Linked DNA regions of Homo sapiens: regions 1, 2, 3, 4, 5 and 6 are each linked to region 7. The links are contacts of gene promoters, found by promoter capture Hi-C in blood cells and fetal thymus (Javierre and others, 2016). All regions are on one chromosome and are shown on one strand. The core of a region is centred on a gene start or on the middle of the fragment in contact, and the rest is flanking DNA. Distances in the headings are between cores, read along the strand shown. Region 1 overlaps GALNT5 (polypeptide N-acetylgalactosaminyltransferase 5). Region 2 has its middle 12 kb from the start of GALNT5. Region 3 overlaps GALNT5 (polypeptide N-acetylgalactosaminyltransferase 5). Region 4 has its middle 31 kb from the start of GALNT5. Region 5 overlaps GALNT5 (polypeptide N-acetylgalactosaminyltransferase 5). Region 6 has its middle 78 kb from the start of GALNT5. Region 7 holds the start of FLJ46875 (a long non-coding RNA gene).

The links. The method cuts DNA at HindIII sites, captures the fragments that hold promoters and counts their contacts. A CHiCAGO score of 5 or more calls a contact.
Region 1: a fragment that was not itself captured here is called in contact with the fragment with the promoter of FLJ46875 in region 7 in 1 of 17 cell types (erythroblasts); the score reaches 6.7 in erythroblasts.
Region 2: a fragment that was not itself captured here is called in contact with the fragment with the promoter of FLJ46875 in region 7 in 1 of 17 cell types (erythroblasts); the score reaches 7.9 in erythroblasts.
Region 3: a fragment that was not itself captured here is called in contact with the fragment with the promoter of FLJ46875 in region 7 in 2 of 17 cell types (erythroblasts and naive B cells); the score reaches 7.4 in erythroblasts.
Region 4: a contact is called between a fragment that was not itself captured here and the fragment with the promoter of FLJ46875 in region 7, in 1 of 17 cell types (erythroblasts). The highest score is 6.6, in erythroblasts.
Region 5: a contact is called between a fragment that was not itself captured here and the fragment with the promoter of FLJ46875 in region 7, in 1 of 17 cell types (erythroblasts). The highest score is 22.0, in erythroblasts.
Region 6: a fragment that was not itself captured here is called in contact with the fragment with the promoter of FLJ46875 in region 7 in 2 of 17 cell types (endothelial precursors and M1 macrophages); the score reaches 8.0 in endothelial precursors.

Annotation. Positions count from the first base shown.
Region 1 is chr2:157,276,887-157,279,756 of GRCh38, reverse strand. All of the region lies in intron 1 of GALNT5 (polypeptide N-acetylgalactosaminyltransferase 5), which reads right to left. Among named protein-coding and RNA genes, the nearest start is that of GALNT5, 21 kb to the right of the region's middle. The HindIII fragment of the contact is 534 bases long and covers 1,143-1,676 here.
Region 2 is chr2:157,243,852-157,247,138 of GRCh38, reverse strand. No RefSeq gene overlaps it. Among named protein-coding and RNA genes, the nearest start is that of GALNT5, 12 kb to the left of the region's middle. RefSeq lists a silencer at 515-604 and an enhancer at 1-1,178. The HindIII fragment of the contact is 2,511 bases long and covers 569-3,079 here.
Region 3 is chr2:157,302,525-157,305,453 of GRCh38, reverse strand. All of the region lies in intron 7 of GALNT5 (polypeptide N-acetylgalactosaminyltransferase 5), which reads right to left. Among named protein-coding and RNA genes, the nearest start is that of ERMN, 22 kb to the left of the region's middle. RefSeq lists a silencer at 2,765-2,844. The HindIII fragment of the contact is 2,838 bases long and covers 1-2,791 here.
Region 4 is chr2:157,224,677-157,227,789 of GRCh38, reverse strand. No RefSeq gene overlaps it. Among named protein-coding and RNA genes, the nearest start is that of GALNT5, 31 kb to the left of the region's middle. The HindIII fragment of the contact is 439 bases long and covers 1,554-1,992 here.
Region 5 is chr2:157,260,489-157,263,677 of GRCh38, reverse strand. The region is part of intron 1 of GALNT5 (polypeptide N-acetylgalactosaminyltransferase 5); the gene reads right to left. Among named protein-coding and RNA genes, the nearest start is that of GALNT5, 4.4 kb to the right of the region's middle. The HindIII fragment of the contact is 2,845 bases long and covers 99-2,943 here.
Region 6 is chr2:157,178,162-157,181,115 of GRCh38, reverse strand. No RefSeq gene overlaps it. Among named protein-coding and RNA genes, the nearest start is that of GALNT5, 78 kb to the left of the region's middle. The HindIII fragment of the contact is 1,522 bases long and covers 897-2,418 here.
Region 7 is chr2:156,340,720-156,343,763 of GRCh38, reverse strand. FLJ46875 (a long non-coding RNA gene) reads left to right here and starts at 1,644. Exons shown (of 1, transcript NR_147695.1): 1 at 1,644-3,044. RefSeq lists enhancers at 363-422, 1,630-2,183, 2,184-2,739 and silencers at 833-1,442, 1,983-2,082. The HindIII fragment of the contact is 3,407 bases long and covers 1-2,339 here.

The sequences.
Region 1 (2,870 bases), core at 160-2,659, 940 kb before region 7:
GGGGATTTCCCTTTCTTAGCCAAGGGAAGCTGTGACAGATTGCACCTGAAAAAATGGGACACTTCTGCCCAAATACTGTGCTTTTCCCACAGTCTCAGCAACTGGCAGACCCAGAGATTCTTTCCTGTGCCTGGCTTGGCAGGTCCCACACCCATGGAACCTTGCTCACTGCTAGCACAGCAGTCTGAGATCAAACTGGGAGGCGGCAGCCTGGCTCGGGGAGGGACGTCCACCATTGCTGAGGCTTGAGTAGGTAAACAAAGCAGCTCAAACTGGGTGGAGCCCACCGCAGCTCAGCAAGGCCTACTGCCTCTGTAGACTCCACCTCTGTGAGTAGGGCATAGCTGAACAAAAGGCAGCAGACAACTTCTGCAGATTTAAATGTCCCTGTCTGACCGCTCTGAAAAGAGCAGTGGTTCTCCCAGCACGGCGTTTGAGCTCTGAGAATGGACAGACTGCCTCCTCAAGTGGGTCCCTGACCCCTGTGTAGCCTAACTGGGAGACACCTCCCAGTAGGGGCTGACAGACACCTCATATAGGCGGGTGCCCCTCTGGGACGAAGCTTCAGGCAGAGGAAGGATCAGGCAGCAATATTTGCTGTTCTGCAGCCTCCACTGGTGATACCCAGGTAAACAGGGTCTGGAGTGGACCTCCAGCAAACTCCAACAGATCTGCAGCTGAGGGTCCTGACTGTTAGAAGGAAAACTAACAAACAGAAAGGAATAGCATCAACATCAACAAAAAGGACATCTACATCAAAACCCCATCTGTAGGTCACCAGCATCAAAGACCAAAGGTAGATAAAACCACAAAGATGGGGAGAAACCAGGGCAGAAAAGCTGAAAATCCTAAAAACCAGAGCACCTCTTCTCCTCCAAAGGATTGCAGCTCCTAGCCAGCGATGGAACAAAGCTGGATGGAGAATGACTTTGACAAATTGATAGAAGTAGGCTTCAGAAGGTCGGTAATAACAAACTTCTCTGAGCTAAAGGAGCATGTTTAAACCCATCAAAAGGAAGCTAAAAACCTTGAAAAAACACTAGACGAATGGCTAACTAGAATAAACAGTGTAGAGAAGACCTGAAATGGCCTGATGGAGCTGAAAACCATGGCAAGAGAACTTCGTGATGCATGCACAAGCTTCAATAGCCGATTTAATCAAGTGGAAGAAAGGGTATCAGTGATTGAAGATCAAATTAATGAAATGGGGTGAGAAGACAAGTTTAGAGGAAAAAGAGGAAAAAGAAATGAACAAAGCCTCCAAGAAATATGGGACTATGTGAAAAGACCAAATCTATGTTTGATTAGTGTACCTGAAAGTGATGGGGAGAATGGAACCAAGTTGGAAAACACACTTCAGGATATTATCCAGGAGAATGTCCCCAACCTAGCCAACATTCAAATTCAGGAAATACAGAGAACACCACAAAGATACTCCATGAGAAGAGCAACTCCAAGACACATAATTTTCAGATTCACCAAAGTTGAAATGAAGGGAAAAATGTTAAGGACAGCCAGATAGAAAGGTTGGCTTACCCACAAAGGGAAGCCGATCAGACTAATGGTGGATCTCTCGGCAGAAACTCTACAAGCCAGACGAGAGTGAGGGCCAAAATTCAACATTCTTAAAGAAAAGAACTTTCAACCCAGAATTTCATATCCAGCCAAACTAAGCTTCATGAGTGAAGGAAAAATAAAATCCTTTATAGACAAGCAAATGCTGAGAGATTTTGTCACCACCAGGCCTGCCTTACAAGAGCTCCTGAAGGAAGCACTAAACATGGAAAGAAACAACTGGTACCAGCCACTGCAAAAACAGACCAAATTGTAAAGACCATCGATGCTATGAAGAAACTGCATCAATTAATGGGCAAACTAACCAGCTAACATCATAATGAAAGGATCAAATTCAAACATAACAATATCAATCTTAAATGTAAATGGGCTAAATGCCCTAATTAAAAGACACAGTCTGGCAAATTGGATAAACAGTCAAGACGCATCAGTGTGCTGTATTCAGGAGACCCATCTCATGTGCAGAGACACACATAGGCTCAAAATAAAGGGATGGAGGAGGATCTACCAGGCAAATGGAAAGCAAAAAAAGAACAGGGGTTGCAATCTTAGTCTCTGATAAAACAGACTTCAAACCAACAAAGATCAAAAGAGACAAAGAAGGCCATTACATAATGGTAAAGGGATCAGTTGAACAAGAAGAGCTAACTATCCTAAATATATATGCACCCAATACAGGAGCACCCAGATTCATAAAGCAAATCCTTAGAGATCTACAAAGAGACTTAGACTCCCACACAATAATAATGGGAGACTTTAATGCCCCACTGTCAATATTAGACAGATCAATGAGACAGAAGGTTAACAGGGATATCCAGGACTTGAACTCAGCTCTGCACCAAGCAGACCTAATAGACATCTACAGAACTCTCCACCCCAAATCAACAATATATATTCTTCTTAGCACCACATCGCACTTATTCTAAAATTGATCACATAATTGGAAGTAAAGCATTCCTCAGCAAATGTAAAATAACAGAAATCACAACAAACTGTCTCTCAGAACACAGTGCAATCAAATTAGAACTCAGGATTAAGAAATTTACTCAAAACTGCACAACTACATGGAGACTGAACAACCTGCTCCTGAATGACCACTGAGTAAATAACGAAATGAAGGCAGAAATAAAGATGTTCTTTGAAACCAACGAGAACAAAGACACAACATACCAGAATCTCTGGGACACATTTAAAGCAGTGTGTAGAGGGAAATTTATAGCACTAAATGCCCACAAAAGAAAGCAGGAAAGATCTAAAATTGACACCCTAACATCACAAATTAAAAGAACTAGACA
Region 2 (3,287 bases), core at 575-3,074, 900 kb before region 7:
CAGTGGGTAGGGGTTGGATGCACTTGGTAAAGTTTGGAATCAGCTGTTAAGAGGAGAAAGAAATGTGCTACCTCAGAACAAGAGTAAGGACTTCTCAGAGAGCTTCGAGAGTCCTGCTGGCATTTTAACCAATGCCTCTAAGCAAGGAGAAAACACAATGAGTGACAGTAGAACAAAGAAGGCATGTGGACACTCCCACAGCATTCCTGAGACAGAGTGATAAAAGGTGACAGGGAAGCAGATATGGAGTAATGATTTCTGACAAACGTGGAAAGAAGGGGATATCATGAAAGGATTTTAGAAAGTGGAATTGCCGTATCTAAAAGCATTAGGAGAAATTCTACAGGCGAGAATAAAAAGAAGGCACTAGAGATTTTTGTTGTTGATTTTATTTGTAGAAAGAGACATTCTTTAACAACTGCAGGCATGTTAGGACTTTGCCCTTTGAAAATCTATTAGTAATGATATAAAAATCCTTCCGTGGTCTCTTTTGGCAGAAACTGAATTAAATCTTCAGCTGCTCTCTGAATCACTCATTTAAAAGTTTCAGTGATTCATATGCAAAGCTTGAGTTAAGAGAACAAAGACCTGAGCGAGTTTCTGTAGGGCTCGGCCTAAGCAAAGTTGTCACGCAGAACAACATGAGTGCTGGGTCCCCTACCCTTGGCCCTGACAACCTCCATCCGAGCAGCAACCCCTATCCAACTTACTGCTGCCCTGCAGCCTCCCAGGTGCTGCCCTGGGAATGCCCTCAGAACGGGTCCTGTCCTCTGATCCTGACTCTCCTTCCTCTTCTCATCCATCCCCCTGAAATGATCCTGTCCTCTTTATGGCCTCCATTATAGCAAAGAAAAGAGAAGGAAGAAGAGAGGAGTAGAAAAAGAAGTCTTGTGGGAGGAGCAGACAGCAGGTGCTATGTAGGGCATTTGAGGGCTCTTTTCATGTGCTGTGAAGAAGTGGGATGAAATGAAAATCTTTTTGAAAAAGCTGGAAGCTGTTTCAGATCTCCCCCTGCCCTGCTCCCCACCAATTCAATTCCTGCTCCCAGGGGAAAGTGCAAAATAACTTTCTGTGGAATGAAATGATGACAATGACTTTGGATCCAATAATGTTATCATAACCTGGAAATAACCTTTCCATCTGAGGCTTGCAAAGGCAGTGAAGTGTGAAACTCAGACTACAGTTAGAGAAACGAAAGAGACTTGAACTCAGGACCCTTTGGACATTTCCTTCAATATCAAAGAAAAGTTTTTATTTCTCTCCTCTGAAAATAGGGTAGGAAATGGGTAAGTGATAAACAGAGAAAAAGGCAGAAGCAATACCTAATTAGAAATCAAACTAAGAGAGGAAAAGAAAAATGGGTTCAGATTAATGTCAGGTTTGGTTATTCCAGGATCTCAACTTCGTTGCTGTTATCACATACTTTCAGAGGCATTCAGGTCTTGTGATGCCGTGTGCTTGAGTGTTTTTCTTACTCTTGGAAGCTGAGGATTAATACTCAGGGCTGGGCACACAGGAGAAAAGGGTTTGTTAAGCATCCACTCCTGGTTAAGCTAAAAAATGTACATAGAACTTGAAAGCACCCAACTCAGTTCCAGAGGGATGAAATAAACCTAAAAATAGGTGAGCTCTGGTTGTATTGGGGCTGGCCTGAAAACACACAAGAAAGGAGCACTTGAAAGAGAAGGAAAGAGGAGCAATGTGCATATTTTACATGGATATACACATTTGTGTCTACATATTTATATACAAATGTACAAACTCCATGTGTGCTTCGTTTGTGTGTGCATATTCATATTTATACATATGTATATATGTAGAGTTCACAGAGCATACCCACACAAATACACACCAGAGGTGCTGACTTTGAGCTCTGTAAGAAAAAATTTACTACTCGGGAAGAAATGAAACAGGCCTTTTGAGGACATTGGCCATACACTACCAGGTATACTACCTTTTGGAGGGCAGATCATATGTTTTGCATATGTTTATTTTGGGTAGGAGGAGACTCAGGAGCAACATAATAACCACTTCAAAATTTTAGAGGAATATCCTGTGGAAGAAGGGTTTAACTCATTCCGTATGGTTCCAGAAGAGAGAACTGAGACTGGAGCATAGCAGATTTCTGTTCTAAATGAGAATGACTTTCTAACAATTAGTACTAAACAAAAGACACGTGTATTTCTTCTAAAAGTAGTTAACGATATGCCTGCTCTTGTAAATGACATGTGGCAGAGGATGAATGGCCATCTGTCACAGAAACGGTAGGGGGTATTCTTCCATTAGGTGGGGGTTTGGACTACAGCATTAGCTGGACCAGCTCCATTCTGAAATTCAGTGGTTCTCTGAAATACATAAATGAGTTTTGAGGCAAGGCAAGTCAGATAATGGTTTTGATTTACTGATTGCTTTTACTTCATTCAGTGACTTAGGAGCAGAAAACTCCTATCTCAATAGTTCCTATAGATATCTATTTTTTTGCCTTCTGTTTGATTTCTATTCTTCCTCCTTTTCTCTTTACCTTTAATTTTTGTGTTTCTATTATCTTTTCCTTTTCTTTTCTTCTTCCTCCCCATGCCCTCTAGATATAAGGATGGAGTAAAGGCAATGTTTGTCAAGAAAGCAACAAGGAAGAAAAAAGAATAGAGAAAGGAAAACTTTGAACTCAGTTAACTTTTAATTTTCACTTCAAATTTTGGCTGTGTGTGAGTATGTGAATGCATGTATGTATACTGGATTGTGTATGTGTTTGTGTGTGTGTGGAGGGGTGGGATAGAAACAGAGAGAATGTGTGAGTAGGTGAATAGACCCTCAGATGTTTGGAAATGCTGGAAGTTAGGTACCACTTCTTGTTGTCACGATGCCTAGTGGGTGCTAGTAGTAATTAATGGCAAAAGGGGAGGAATGCTCTATGTCCTGCAATATGCATGTCAGTGCCATCCAATCATGTATTATACTACCCTACATAACAGGGCCCCATTGAGGAACACTAGGGAAAGGCTGTGGAGACAGACTGTCTGGGTTTGAATCCTGGTTCTGCCATTTTTAGCTTTGGGATCTTGGATAAATACTTTAAGCTTTTTGGGTGTTTGTTTTCTCTTCTGTAATATGAAGGGTAATAAGAACACCAACCTCACATTACTGTCAGAATTAAATGAATTAGTATGAGTCAAGTGCTTAGAAAAGCACAGACACATAAAACACATTCAACAGTGTCATCTATGATTTTAATTTTTCTGAAATGGCTGGAAATGGACTACTTGGACTCATCTTATGTGCTGAGTGTA
Region 3 (2,929 bases), core at 123-2,622, 960 kb before region 7:
GGCAAGAAAAGTAATTATTTTCTTGTCTTAAGTTTATCTAATGCATATACTAAAAGTCAATGCACCTATAAGAGTTATGAGCTATGTTCCCTGACTGACCCCTTCAAGCCTTTTGACTGCTTAAGCACTGAATCATAGATAAATTGAGTCCTTCAAAGAACAGCAGATTCCAGCTGATTCCCTGTCAGAATCTTCTTAATGACCCAAGCAAGCTACAATTCATTATAGGAAAGTCACGAAAGCTAATACAGAGCCAAGCATAAAGGCACTTTCTGGCAGGCCCCCAGGTTTTTAATGGATTTACAGGGTCAAATATGGAGGTAGCTTTCTTTAAGTCACCATTTAATGCAGAAAAATGTTGATTTCCTTTCCCCCTTTGACATCCTGGGCAGGGCTAACAAGATGATGGGTTAACAGTGCAACTTAGGGTTTTCAGATTTCTCGAACAGCTGTGCAGAGCCGAATCTATAGGACATGTCCTGGGAAAGCCTCCTGAGCTGGGAGGAGCTGAAGTCTTTGTTGCCAGGGACACTATTTGTGTCCTTCCTGTTCTATGATGCCTAACAAAGAGCTCTAACTCAGGGTGCTGCACTGATGCAGACTGGATGCTCACAGAATTGCCAGACTTCATAAAAGGGGGCTCAGTACATTGGTCCTCAATTTTACATGCTTAGCTTAGTGAACAAGAAAGTAAGGGACATCTTCAGGGATCAGAATATGCGGAAAAAATTAAAGGCTACAGGGAAACTTGCAAAGGTTGGCAAGAAAGACTTGTTCCCTCATATGGATGGAAGAAAAACAGAGGTATGTGTAAACCAAAAATCTGGAATTCAGGTCTTCCACATAACAGCGGAAAAACAGATCTTCAGTTGAATGCTGCACTGGGAAAAACAATTTGCCCATTAGCAAAGGGAGAAAACAAGGAAGCTGGATTGTCCCTGAGAATCTGAAACTTTACACCAGGCTTCATTTGGATTTGAGATGAATATTTACACCACCTGCCTTGGATAGGAACCATCACAGACTTTCAAGGCATAGAAACAAACATTAAAAATAGTACCAGGTTGTTAATTACTTCTGAGGTGCCTGGCACAGGCAGAAACAAAGCAACTATGGAAGGATGGAATCTCTATCAAAAATCCTCAGAGAAAGCTCTATTAGCAATTTAAAATGACAAATATGGGAGGAGACAGCTCACTGTTAGTAAATGTGGGCATCACAAGGCACAGAAGGATTCAATGCCCCCACAGTCCCACCCCTGAACTTCAGAGAGGAAGGTGAATAGAAAGACATGAAGGTAGAATAATCTCGGGGCTTAAAGGAAGGAAAGCATGCTGCAATTGCTCTCTGTACTGAAGCAGAGATAAATATTATGTAAGCTCCTGTATTTGTGGATCATGCAGAAATATTCTATCTTCAAACAAATTTGGAAAATTCTGGTTTCCACAGAGCCGAACAGGTGGTTCTACTCCAGAACTTCTCAAAATCTTCAGGGTGTTAATGTTCAGCTTGCTGTCAGAATGTTGTACAAATGTTTCTCAAATGTGCTTGACCATGGAACCCTGAGACAGCACAAGTAACATTGGTCAGGACAGTGTTTGGGAACCCCCTGTTTAACTATTTGTGTCTATTTTGTATAATCCTTCCAAGAACCGAAAAGCATTGGAAGGAAAGATAAAACTTTTCTGTCCCTTACATGTCCCTCCCTCATTTGACCTGAAGATTTTTTTTTCCTTTTTCTTAGAAATTACTGAGGAAACTATTTAATTGAGGTTTTTGCCATGGAAGGTACTTTTACACCAACCTAATACTTTTCTTCATATAGACATCATCTCTGAAGTGTTTTGGAATTGTTATTCTTCATTTCATTATTAGTTGTTTTCAGAATTTTCCTTTTTATTTAAAAATAATTGATCCATGTTTTTACTGTAAACCATTTTAATCTTTAAAAAAAATAGGCAGTGTATGAATTTTAAATTATCCATGTTGTATTATTTCATTTTCCAATTTAGGAAGTAGACATTCCGCACAATTTATGACAGAATTGTTAAACATTAGGCTATTTGCCAGCGGTTTAATCCAGTGTAAAAATACATTATTGGTGAGATTCTTTCATTAGCTTCAAATGTTGTCGTTTCAATAAGAAAATATTTCTTCTTATTACAAAAAACCAAAACTTTCACTGGATTTAAATTTCTGCTTGTGGAGGTTGAAAAAAGGGAAACGGAGCTATAGACTGTTTGCCAGCAGTTTAATCCAGTGAAAAATACATTATTGGTGAGATTATTAGCTTCAAATATTGTTGGTTCGATAAGAAAATGTTTGTTCTTATTACAAAACACAAAACTTTCACTGGATCTAAATTCCGTAGTGGAGGTTGAAAGAAGGGAAACGAAGCAAGTAACAAAAAGAAGTTGTGGAGTTTATTTTCTTGGAACTTTCCACGATTGTCTATCTAAAATAATGATCTACTTAATTTGTTGTAAATTACCTGGAGAAAGGTCCTAATTTTTTAAAAATGTTAATAACGCTCCCTGCTGGTTTGCTTCAGAAGGGAGCAAACTACATCTTCACTGAAATTTGTTTAAGGAAGACAACAAAGGAAAATAGAAGGAATTTGTTAAAATCACTTTTTAAAATACTTGGTGCATTTTGATATAGTATAGCGGAGGCATCAGCAGAAGGCTGTTTCATTAGGAGAGCTCTCCAGAAATTTCATAGGAACTCACTCAGGTTAGCGCAACAGCGGAGCCCAAAGGTAGTTTTCTAGTGCCCTCTGGTGGTTAAAGCTTATTATTACTCTGACTGAGATTCTGCGTTGCTGGAATGGGAAATATTAGAATAGTGGAAATTCCTTTCTTTTTTTTTTTTCTGCTCAGCGGTTGAAATTAAAAATTGTAAATTTATTTTACAGTTATATTTGACATGT
Region 4 (3,113 bases), core at 524-3,023, 880 kb before region 7:
ATTAGTACAGCCATTATGGAAAACTGTATGGAGGTTTCTCAAAACACTTAAAAGTAGAGCCAGCACAAGATTGAGCAATAACACTGTTGAGTATTTATCCAAAGGAAAGGAAATCAGTATATTGAAGAGATACCTGTACCCCATGTTTATGGCAGCACTATTTACAATAGCCAAGATATGGAATCAAACTAAGTGTCCATCAGCAGATGAACAGATAAAGAAAATGTGGTAAATAAACACAGTGGAATACTACCTGACCATAAAAAGAATAAAATTATGTTATTTGCAGCAACATGGATGAAACTGGAGGTTATTATGTGAACTGAAATAAGCAAGGCACAGAAAAACAAATATCATGTGTTCTCACTCAAATGTGAGAGGTTAAAAAAATAGAACTCATGGAGATAGAGAGTAGAAAGAGGCTGGGAAGGGTGTGTGTTGGCGGTGGGGGGTGGGGGGCATTGGGGGAATGAATAAAAATTGTTTAATGGGCACAAACATACATACAAACATACAATTAATAGAAGAAATAATGTTTGATAGTACAGTAGATTTACTATAGTTAACAACAACATATTGTAGATTTCAAAATAGCTGGAAGAGAGAACTTGACATATTCCCAACACATGGCAATGATAAATATTTGAGGTGATGGATAGCCCAAATACCCTGACTTGATCATTCCATATTCTATGCATGTAACAAAATGTACAAATATTATGTATCAATAAAAAGCTAAATCTAAACATGCTTCTCTTAAAAATATAGAAATTGACAAAGCCAGAAGTCTAACAGGCAAATAAAATAGATTAACTTGAAAAGGCTAATAAAATGGGTAAATGTTTGGTAAAATGATCAAGAAAAAAAGAGGACAGATAACAAATATAATAAATGGAAAAAATGACATTATTATAGACCCTTCAGAAACAAAAAATATCGAAGGAGAATATCATGAATGACTTACAGTAATACATTTGAAAATTTTGGTGACATTGAGAAATTTCTAAAAAATCAAAACTTACCAAAACTGATGCAAGAATGGAAATAAGAAATAAGAGTGTTAATATAAAATTTTAATATGAAATAATAAGAGTATAAACCATCAATATCTTTTGCTATTAAAATATTGAATTCTGAATTCAAAAAGTAAACAAATTAACCCAAATAAAACCAAACTAAGCTGACCAATCAAACAATATCTCTTCTTTCCACAAGAACAAAGACATCAATTTAGAGCAATTCTACTAGAAAATAAAAAGAAAACATTCCTCAACTTGTTTCATGAGGCAAGCGTAACTTTGAAATGAAAACTTCTTAAGAATATTTTGAGTAAGAAAATTGACAAGCCAATCTTACTCAGGAACATAGATATAAAATCCCTAAACAAAGTATTAGTAAACCCGGAATGGCAATACACAAAAAGGATGATACATCATGATTAAGTTAGGCTTATTATAGGAATGCAAAATTGGTTTATCATCATAAAAATCCGTGGACTTCACAAATTAAAAAAGAAAAATCATATAGTCTTCTCAATATATACAGAAAAAGCTTAGACTAGAATTCAATTCCCATTCATGATCAAACATCTTAGCAAACTGTGAATAGAAGGGAGTTCTTAATTTAATAATGGGTATCTACAAAAACATCCAGAAATATAATACTTAATGGGGAATGCCAGAAACTTTCATCTGGATTTGAAGAATGGAACAATATGGCTGCAAATTTACTACATATTCTTCAATGCTGTCTTGAAGAGCCTAACTGATACAGTCAACCAAGACAAAGGAACTACAAGAATTGGGAAGGAAAAAATACAATTGTCATTGCATTTCAGAAGATATAACTGCATAACTAAGAAATCCTCAGGCATCTATAAATAAATTATTACAATTTAAGTGAATTTAGCAAGATTACTGAATAAAAGGCCAATTAAAAAGATAAAAATATATAAATTGCATATCTACTACACTGTAGAGTCTGAAATAAGCTTCAAATATGAGTGTTAGCTAACTCATCTAGCTAAATCCAAAATTTCAAACTCAGAGGTGACTCTTAATCTTATTTTTTTCTTTCAACTCCCTAGGTATCTGTATTCCTAGATATTTTATTCTTTTTGTGGCAGTTGTGAATGGGATTGCATTCCTGATTTGCCTCTCTGCTTAGATGTTGTTGGTGTATAGGAATGTTGCTAATTTTTGTACATTGATTTTGTATACTGGAACTTTGCTGAAGTTGTTTATCAGCTGAAGGAGCTTTTGGGCAGAGACTATGGGGTTTTCTAGGTATAGAATTATGTCATCTGCAAATAGTGATAGTTTGACTTCCTCTCTTCCTATTTGGATGCCTCTTTTTTCTCTTGTCTGATTGCTCTGGCTGGGACTTCCAGTATTACGTTGAATAGGAGTGGTGAGAGAGGGCATCTTTGTCTTGTTCTGGTTTTCAAGAGGAATGCTTTCAGCTTTTGCCCATTCAGTATGATATTGACTGTGGGTTTGTCGTAGATGGGCTTTATTATTTTGATGTATGTTCCTCCAATGCCCAGTTTATTGAGGGTTTTTAACATGAAGGGATATTGAATTTAATTGAAAGCCTTTTCTGCATCTATTGAAATAATCATGTGGTGTTTGTTTTAGTTCTATTTAGGTGATCACATTTATTGATTTGCATATGTTGAACCAATCTTGCATTCCTGTGATGAAGCCTACTTGATAATGGTGGATCAGCTTTTATATTTATATATATATATATATATATATATATATATATATATATATATATATATATATATTATACTTTAAGTTCTAGGGTACATGTGCACAACGTGCAGGTTTGTTACATATGTATACATGTGCCATGTTGGTGTGCTGCACTCATCAACTCGTCATTTACATTAGGTATATCTCCTAATGCTATCCCTCCCCCATCCTCCTACCCCACAACAGGCCCCAGTGTGTGATGTTCCCCTTCCTATGTCCAAGTGTTCTCATTGTTCAATTCCCACCTATGAGTGAGAACATGCAGTGTTTGTTTTTTTTGTTCTTGCGATAGTTTGCTGAGAATGATGGTTTCCAGCTTCATCCATGTCCCTACAAAGGACATGAACTCATCAT
Region 5 (3,189 bases), core at 272-2,771, 920 kb before region 7:
TCATACTGTGTAAACCTGTTGCTTCTGAATGTACAGCACTGTGATCAGTGCTAAAGGAGTACAAAATAAAGCTAAAGACAAAGTTTCCTTCAGAAGCTTATAATTTCACTAGGAAGGAAAAACAGACGTTCAAGGATTCAGTTAATGAAGAACACAGAATAAACAGTGTTTCAGTAACTAGGATGCCTGTGTACACTAAGAGTAATTGCAATTTAGAGGTCACAGCTACCTCATGGTCCAGGTGGAAGGAAGCCACAGTTGGATTCTGAGCAACATTGAATTAGAATGTGTGCAAGAGAATGGTGAGGATGGAGGGAGGCTGTGGGAAGGGACCAGTGAATGAAAACCTCAGTGGATGGTTACAACTGTAAAGGGTGGAGAAGAGCAAAGAGATTAGCTTTTCTTATGCTAAGGGCCCAGCTTGGAGAAAATGTCATGTGCAGGGTGCTATTGCTATACCACAAAGGGGAGAAACATGGGCAGACAGAAAAGGACAGTGTGAGTAACCCTGAGAACAGAAAGGAGTTCTTGTGCTTTAGAAAAGAGGTGTGGGCCGGATGCGGTGGCTCACGCCTGCAATCCCAGCATTTTGGGAGGCCAAGGCGGGCAGATCATGAGGTCAGGAGATCGAGACCATCCTGGCTAACACGGTGAAACCCCGTCTCTACTAAAAATACAAAAAATTAGCTGGGCATGGTGGCGGGTGCCTGTAGTCCCAGCTACTCGGGAGGCTGAGGCAGGAGAATGGTGTGAACCCCGGAGGCGGAGTTTGCAGTGAGCCGAGATCGCACCACTGCGCTCAGCCTGGGTGACAGAGCGAGACTCCATCTCAAAAAAAAAAAAAAAAAAAAAAAAAAAGAGTTGTGAAATTGAATCTTAACATTTTAGCAATGGTCCTTTGGGACTCCAGAGAAAACGGAGTGAAAAAGCAGGTTTGGAAAAGAGAATCTGATTTTAGAACTAGAGTAAGAGAAGTTGTCCTGGAAATCCCTGCCTGTCTCCTCTACCTTTTTATTGTTGTTGTTGTTGTTGTTGTTGTTGTTTTCTGAGACAAGGTCTTATTCTGTCACCCAGGCTAGTGGCACAATCTTGGTTCACTGCAACCTCGACCGCTCAGGCTCAAGTGATCCTCCCACCTCAGCTTCCTGAGTGGCTGAGACTACAGGCATGCACCACCACCCTTGGGTAATTTTTAAATTTTTTTGTAATGATGAGGTCTCACTATATTGCCCAGGCTGATCTCAAACTCCTGGGCTCAAGGGATCCTCTAACCATGTCCTCCCAAAGTGCTGAGATTACAGGCTTGAGCTACCATGCCTGTCCTCTACTTCTTAATGGTAACCTCACCCTAGCACATCAGCTCATTCATCTTTAAGATGATGTTAACTACCGACTAGTTATTATCTTCACTGGGTGAAGTTGAATTTAAATGATTATACCAAATCTGTGCGCTTTTTTTTTTTTTTTTTTACATTTTTTGGTTCATTCTGTATCAATGAGCAGTTGTGATATGACAGTTATGTGTGAATTCATCTATAACAGTGGATTTTGGGGAAATGAATAGGCCAAAAAGGAAGATATTCTCCAAAACTCTTAAAATTTAAAGGTTGCAGTAGGATGCTACTCCAGCTAATTTTAAGCTAGCCCTCCTGTATTCTTACAGTTATTTCTCTCTCTCTTTCTTTCACACACATGTACTCATTTTCTTATTCTATTTTATAACAATTTCCCCTTATGCTGACTTCGAAAACTTATTATCTTAAAAAATCTTATTGCATGCATTCCTGTAAGCAGCTACCTCAAACGCTTTTTGAGCCAGGCTGAAAATAAATAAAGCCAAATTTAAAAAAACAAAAACAAAAAACACTCCAAATCTTGCCAAACTGATGAATCAAATGTTTTTTGATTGTATTTTCTTTAACCTTTATCTATATGAATACATAATTTACACATATTTATAGTCAAGGTGTTTGGGTAAAAGAACAAAAAATGATTTATCCTCTTTCAAAGAAGAGGACTACAAAAGGACTGAAAAATACTTTGGGAGGCCCCAGGTCCAGGATCCCTGGTGGTAGACCCCTGAGTGGAGCGTAGCATCCGCCAGGCAGCTTGAGACACACCTATATTTAGCCAAGGTGGGTTATGTGATAAGAGGGAGGAGGCCTGGCCACATGCTCTCTGACTCATCCTCTCAAGCACATGTGTCAATTTTTCCTACAGTTGGGACAACCTCCTTCAGAAGACAGAGCCTGACTGTAACTTTCCTGGGCTGCAATGCTTAACTTCTACAGAACAAAGTATAGAAACTAAGAAGCACTGGGAGTCCCCGAGCTTTCAATGAGCCACACTAGTGATAACATCGTTATTACTTGCTTTGAGCACCCCCACCCCCGCCACGCATGTGCCTTTTCTCTGGTTTGGAACTGGAGCTTGTGCTTCTGTGCAGTGTCTAATTCCTCCCCAGACTCCCTAGCAGCCTGCCAGGTCAATAAGGGCATGTTAAAATGAAACTGCTTTAACGGCTACTTCATTTCCTTGCACTTTGTGTTCAAAGCTGGCATGTGTAATCCTGTGATACACAGGACTTTAGATTAGAGCTGGGCCAACACAATTTTTAGGATCCTTTTTGAGGGGAGATTGGCAAGAGATGGAAGAGAGTGCAGAATAATTTTGAGCATGAATTTTAATCATTTCTCTACAATGACTAGCTTTGTGACCACAGGCAATCTAGCATCCCAGGGCCTCAGTTTCCTCATCTTTGAGTATGTCTGCATTCTCCTCAAGACTGTGATTATCACCAGGGTGAGAAGCGTGAATGGCACAGTGCTTGGTATAAGCAGTGCATGGCTGATAGCTGTTTGCTGATGGCTAAGAGATGGAAAACGACCTGGTTGTAGCCGACATCACAATGAAGAGACTCTTCTTTCTAATGTGGATAAAGCTTCTCCTGTATCTGCCTTCCTCCTAGTAACACTGACTAAAATGTAATGCTGACTACCTAGATCACAAAGAAGAATTTTCTACAGAAGCCAAACAAGGCCATTGTTTACATGCCACATGTGCTAAGTCTCAATCTTGACATTCCCCAATCCAACTTCCTGGCAAATATTGTTTGACTTAGGGAACTGAGTTAACAGATATTGAACATACGGCTGTTGAGTACCTTCACTTATCAGTGGGCCAAGAAAA
Region 6 (2,954 bases), core at 408-2,907, 840 kb before region 7:
CACTCCAGCTAATTTTTGTATTTTTTCAATAGAGACAGGGTTTTGCCATGTTGCCCAGGCTGGTCTGGAACTACTGAGCTCCAGCAATCTACTCGCCTCGGCGTCCCAAAATGCTGGGATTACAGGCATGAGCCACTGTACCCAGAGCTTGTTGTTATTATTATTCATTATTTTTATTACTGTGTCCCAAGAACATATCTCTAACAATGTCCAGCACATACTGGTATCTCAATAAACATTTTGTTGAGTGGATGAATAAATAAACTAGGCTTTTCTATGGTGATGGTTAAAAAGGCAGACATCTGGGTTAAACTCAGTGGTGGTGCCAAGGGCAGTAGCCAACCCAGTCTCCATCAGCTCCCTTCATTCCCAAATAAAAATCTTACTTTTAATATGGCCAATGTAATCACTTTTATATAAAGTGTGAGTAAAAGTTTAGGAAACTTTTATATTGATATTGATCTGTAACATACACACTAAGTTAAAAAGAGTGTGCTTTCTTTACAAACATAGCCTCATGGCAAACCTCCCAGCTTCGTCTTCCAACCAGATGGCCTCCCCTAAGCCCTACCCTACATAGAATTCTCAAGATGAAGCTGGCCCTCCTCAGATCCAAGTCAGAGTATCTATGGTAGGACCAGGAATCAGCTTTTTCCACAAGCTGTGAGGTGAGTCTAGGTAACACTAAGGTCTTAGTATATACAACCTCAGAGCTTCCTATTCTTACATGGATTCTTTACTACTTGTTCTAATTCAAGGCTCTTACAATACTCACTGACTTTGCAGTGGTAGCTGTAAATCTCAGAGTTTTATGATTGCCTGAAGTTGGATGAAAGTTGATTTCATTATCCCTTTTGTGAGACTGAGTGAATGAAGAAGAAATTACACCACAAGCTTGGACAGGGCAATAACAGTGAAACTGCATGTTACTTTGAATGCAGACTTCTTGTTCTGCAAAAACTACAGAACTATTCCTGGAAAAACAAGGCAATAGCTTTTATTTATTTATTTATTTATTTAATCCTGAGATACATATAGGTAGGGCCAACAGGCATATACAGTGCTTTGATGCATATGAGAGAAATAGCTTTCCCCAAGGGGACAGATTTGAAAAAAGTGCCCCCCACTGACAATGCCAATTAGAAAAAGGTGTCTGCATCTTAAGTTGACTCCAGGATGGCTGAGAGAAGTCTGGCCTTCCAGCTACCCTGTTGTCTTCTTGGCTGAAGTCTTACGTGGAGTGCAACAGCTCAACTGCACAATTATATGAGGTAGAATTCCTGATACTGGGAGTCAAAACCTGGTCTCTGGTGATGGGGCAAGAATGAAAGAGAAAAGTGAGCCTTTAAGGGGATATCAGCGGTTTGTGGGGTCCAAAGATGAGCCCTTATCTTTGCTATACAAGAAACATTTTTGTTTTAAAAAGTGCTTTTTGGTAAAATGTGATAAATCTCCACTTGTTTGAATGACAGAGAGTTGTAATTAATACTCTTACTTTTGAGAAAACCATAAAGTCATTTATACAGTACTGATGGTACTGAGGGGAGGGATGGACACGCTCTTATAGTGGAAACAATGAATCTCTTGGCAGCTGGACAAGAGGTTAGAGAGAAAATACTTACTTTTGAGTGGAGAGCTCCTATGGCTACCTACAGATCTCCATCTCTGCTACATACAGGCTACGTGATTCAGGGCAAGTCATGTCACCAATTTAAAATGCACATCTACTTCTTGGGAGTTGTGAAATGCTTTAACTAGTGCTTTATAAATTGAAGAGTGTCAATGGTAGTGATTATTTTGGAAGAATATATTTTATCATAGTAGGGACTTTGAAAATTTTTAATGCCTTTGAAAGCCCATGTGTACATTACACATTTCAAAGAAGCAAATGTAGACCTTTAAGGTCTGAATGTTTGTCTTTTTCTGCATTGACTGCCTTCCTGAGGAACTAATTCAAAAGTATTTGTGCAATACTGTCACAATATAGTAAATGTGGTTAAATGAGGGAAATTGCTTTTTCCCAAGGGGTCAGATTCAAAACAAGTGCCCCCTGCTGGCAACACCAATTAGAAAAAGGTGTCTGCATCTTAAGTTGACTCAAGGATGGCTCAGAGGAGCCTGGCCTTTTAGCTATTCTGGAAGAGGTTATTACAAAGAATAGATATTAAGTTGGTGCAAAAGTGATTGCAGTTTTTGCCATTGAAAATCATGTCAAAAACCACAATTACTTTTGCACAAACCTAATAATTCAACCCTCTGGCAAATTAACATCAAAGATTATGGGAAGAGTAAGCGTTGTTTTTGTTGTTTATTTGTTTGTTTGTTTTTGCTAGATATGATTTTTTTTTTTTTTGGACGGAGTCTTGCTCTGTCACACAGGCTGGAGTGCAGTGGCGCGATCTCGGCTCACTGCAAGCTTCACCTCCTCCCGGGTTCAGTCCATTCTCCTGCCTCAGCCTCCCAAGTAGCTGGGACTACAGGTGCACACCACCATGCCCAGCTAATTTTTGTATTTTTAGTAGAGATGGGGTTTCATCATGTTGGCCAGAATGGTCTCGATCTCTTGACCTCGTGATCCGCCCTCCTCAGCCTCCCAAAGTGCTGGGATTACAGGCGTGAGCCACCGCGTCCGGCTCAGATATGACTCTTAATGGGTCAAAAGGGAGTACGTAAAGAAAAAAAAGAAAAAAATTCAAGAATTTTTTGAATAGGGCATCTGACTGGATGGAATTTTTGTGATTCTCAAAGTTTAGAGTTCATTGGTATATGTTAGAATCATCTGCAGTCTTGTTTGAACTGTCATTCTTGAGCTTTATACCAGAGGTTCTGATTTCTTAGATCAGAGATCTGCCCAGAAATTTTACTTTTAATAAGCACCTGATATAGTCAAACTCCTGGTGAAGGGATCTTCCCACATTAGCCCTTCGAGTAGCTAGGACTATAGGCATGCACCA
Region 7 (3,044 bases), core at 395-2,894:
AAGGAACTATCAGTCCTTAATGTTAATGAAGAAAGTGCGGCAGAGAAAGGCCGTGGTTTCTGCAAGGTGGCACAGAAAAGTACAGTGAAGACATAATTAAAACTCAAATTTCTTTATCTTCTAAACCCCAGCTCAGAGAACCTTCTACTATACCACTTTGCCTCACTAGTGAACTAAGAACCATTTCCCCCAACACTAGTAACTCACTCTAACCATGCCAAGTCACTGCAACACCTTGCTTGCATCTGCAAATTTTTATCTATGTCTATATCAGAACCTCAGAAAACATGTTCATAGCTGAGACATTTTGCTCAAGACGAAATACAGTTTTATAGTCTATTAATTGTTGGTCCAAGAAAACAGATTACCTCCAGTTGTATGTGGGTACCTTAATGAGTAGGACAAGTGTCAGGGTGTGTGACAGAATTGCCTGAGTATGGAAGGTAGCAGTGAGAGTCTCCACAAAAATATTAATACTTTCCTATAGAGAAAGCCCCTTTTAAAGTGGGAGCCTTTATTAAAGTCCAGAGTTAAAAAGTAAGCTCTTTAACGTTGAGATTATAGACTTTTAGAAAGTTCATTTATGCCATGTTTCAGGCCTATGCTAAATTCTACGGCAAAAAGACCTGTAAATGCACCGGAGCTGACAGCCTGGGTCCTGGAACCCTTCCTCACGCTGCTACTACGGGGCACCCTTTCTATAATACAACCCCCCGAATGAAAACACTAATGCAAGCCTGGCCCCACAAAAACCTAGATAATGCTTACGTTGAAGACGACAGGTTTTTCGCTTTTGTTTTCGGTTGAGGACTTACTACCCCAAAAACACATCCGACCTGTACTAGAATAGGTGTGTGAGGGAGCGGGAAAAGCTCGGGTCATTTTAACTGGACTAGAAAGGAACACAGCGATCCCCTCACTAAACTTGTCGCCAAGTTCCCTCCTCGCCATCCCAGGGTGCGGGAAAAACCCCCTCCCGCCCCGGGGCCCCGGCAGCACTCGGGGACGCCAGCACGCCGGGCTCCTTCCCACCCGCGAACCGCGCTCCCCGCAGGGCGGGCCGGGGCGGGGAAAAAGGAGCTCGACGCGAAGGGCCGCGGGCGGCCTGGGAAGGGAGGAGGGAGACTTGGGAGGCTGCCGGGCGGTTTTATTGTTTCCTTTCGCCCTCCTCCTACCGCGCCTCCGCCCCAGCGTCACTGGAAAGCCGCCCGAGCCGCCCGGCGGCAGGTTATTTATAGCGCGGGCTGCGCGCGCGTCACGGAGCCCGGCCCGGCTGACGGGGCCGCTGACGCGCTTGGCCGCGGGGCCGAGTCCGCGGGGCTGCGCGCCGGACGCCGGCGACAATGGGCTTCTGTGTGCAGCTGCCGCAGCCGCCGGGGGCCGGGGGCCGGGGGCCGGGGGAGGGGGGCGGGCGACTCCCCGGCTCCCTTCTTGGTCGGCCGCGACCCCCCGAAAGGTAACAGGCCTCTTTCGCCCCCGGCCAGGACCTGGGCCCTGTGGGCTTTTTTTTTTTCCATTTTATCAGTAAGTTCCCCTTGTCCCAGCCTCCGCTTTCACTTCCCGCGTTCCCTCCACCCCAAAAACCGCCCCAACATGTCCAGAGAGGGGCATCTACCCAGCCGCCCAGCCAGGGGCGACCACTTTGTGAGCCCCGGGGAGCGGGACCCGTACCAGGCGCGCCCAGCGGGGGATGCGGTGACCGAGGGGCCGGGAGCGCCGGGCAGGTAACGTATCCTGGACCTAGAGTCGGGGGACTTTGTTTGGGGCGGGAGGAGCGGAACAGGGGTGGGTGTGAACGCCGGACGGCCCTTCCGGGACTCCTGTCCCCCCTCCTTCGCCCCACTCGCCTGCGCGCTGGAAGCCAATCTGGGTGTGTAGCGCGAAGAGCGAAAGAGAAACTTCTGCGTGACTGACTAGATGAGGCTCCTCCCGAGAAGCCGAGATAATAGAGGCCCCCTCTCCCGCCGCCCGCCTTTTTCTCCTCCCCCGGCCGCTCGCTCCTGTCGCCCCACCCCTCGAAGGCTGCGGACCAGCCCCCCACACTTCCCCCTACACCTCTGGCGGGTTCGCGCCGTGGACGCCCCCGCCCTGCGGGAGGAGGGGCTGGCGCGGATTTTAGGGACTTCCTGGGATGCGGAGATCGGCTCTGAACCATCCCCTTTCTGCTGCCCGGAGCTGGGGAAGCTCGCTGTGGAGCGTCTCGCACGTGGCAGGCAGGCAGAGAACTTGCTGCACCTTCTAGGAAATTGCAATCGATTTGTAATGCACTTTCGCTAATTGGGAGTTCAAAATTAAACTTTAATAAAGCATTCGTGTCGTCTCGTCTAATTGTGAAAGCTTCCATCCGTCCTGGTAGATAGACTCTAAGTCTCAAGTTAATGGCGCTAAGCTAGATTTTCCCCCCAAGTACAATTCCGTCAGCCGTCGTCGGCGCAGCTGGATTTCCGTAAGGTACAGATGTTGCTAATGACAGCTTAAGCACGGATGGGCAGATAGCATACGGAATGCAACATGTTGCCATATGGTTCCTTTAGCCTTTCACCTCCAGGGATATCAATCACATATATTCTGGGAGGAACTTAATGACTCTCTGAACAGCAAAATGAATTACCTGGTACAATTTATATCCCTTGACCTGATACGTTATAACAACAGGAAGATAGCATCTCGCAATTTCTGTGGTATAAATTGAACTACAGAGCTACATTTAAAATTCTACATCTATTTGTAGTTTAAGGGGCCCTGTCATATTCTGGCTGTAAAATCTGTTTCTGTATTGCCCATCTCCTTCCCCCTCCTACCTCTGGAGGAAGCAAAATTTATAAAGTTTAGCAAAACTGGTGTCGGAAATTGCCAGTCAACTGATTAATAGATGAAGTATGGAGAAATGGAAAATATGACTTCCAGAGCTACTTACTTCAACAAGAATTAGCCATCTTTAGGAACACCATACTTTTAAGCGTACAAAATTAAAGAACTCCAGAAAATGTATTTTCTGCTAGTTGTTTCAGTATAGCTCCTAAATCTATTCATTAACTATTTGA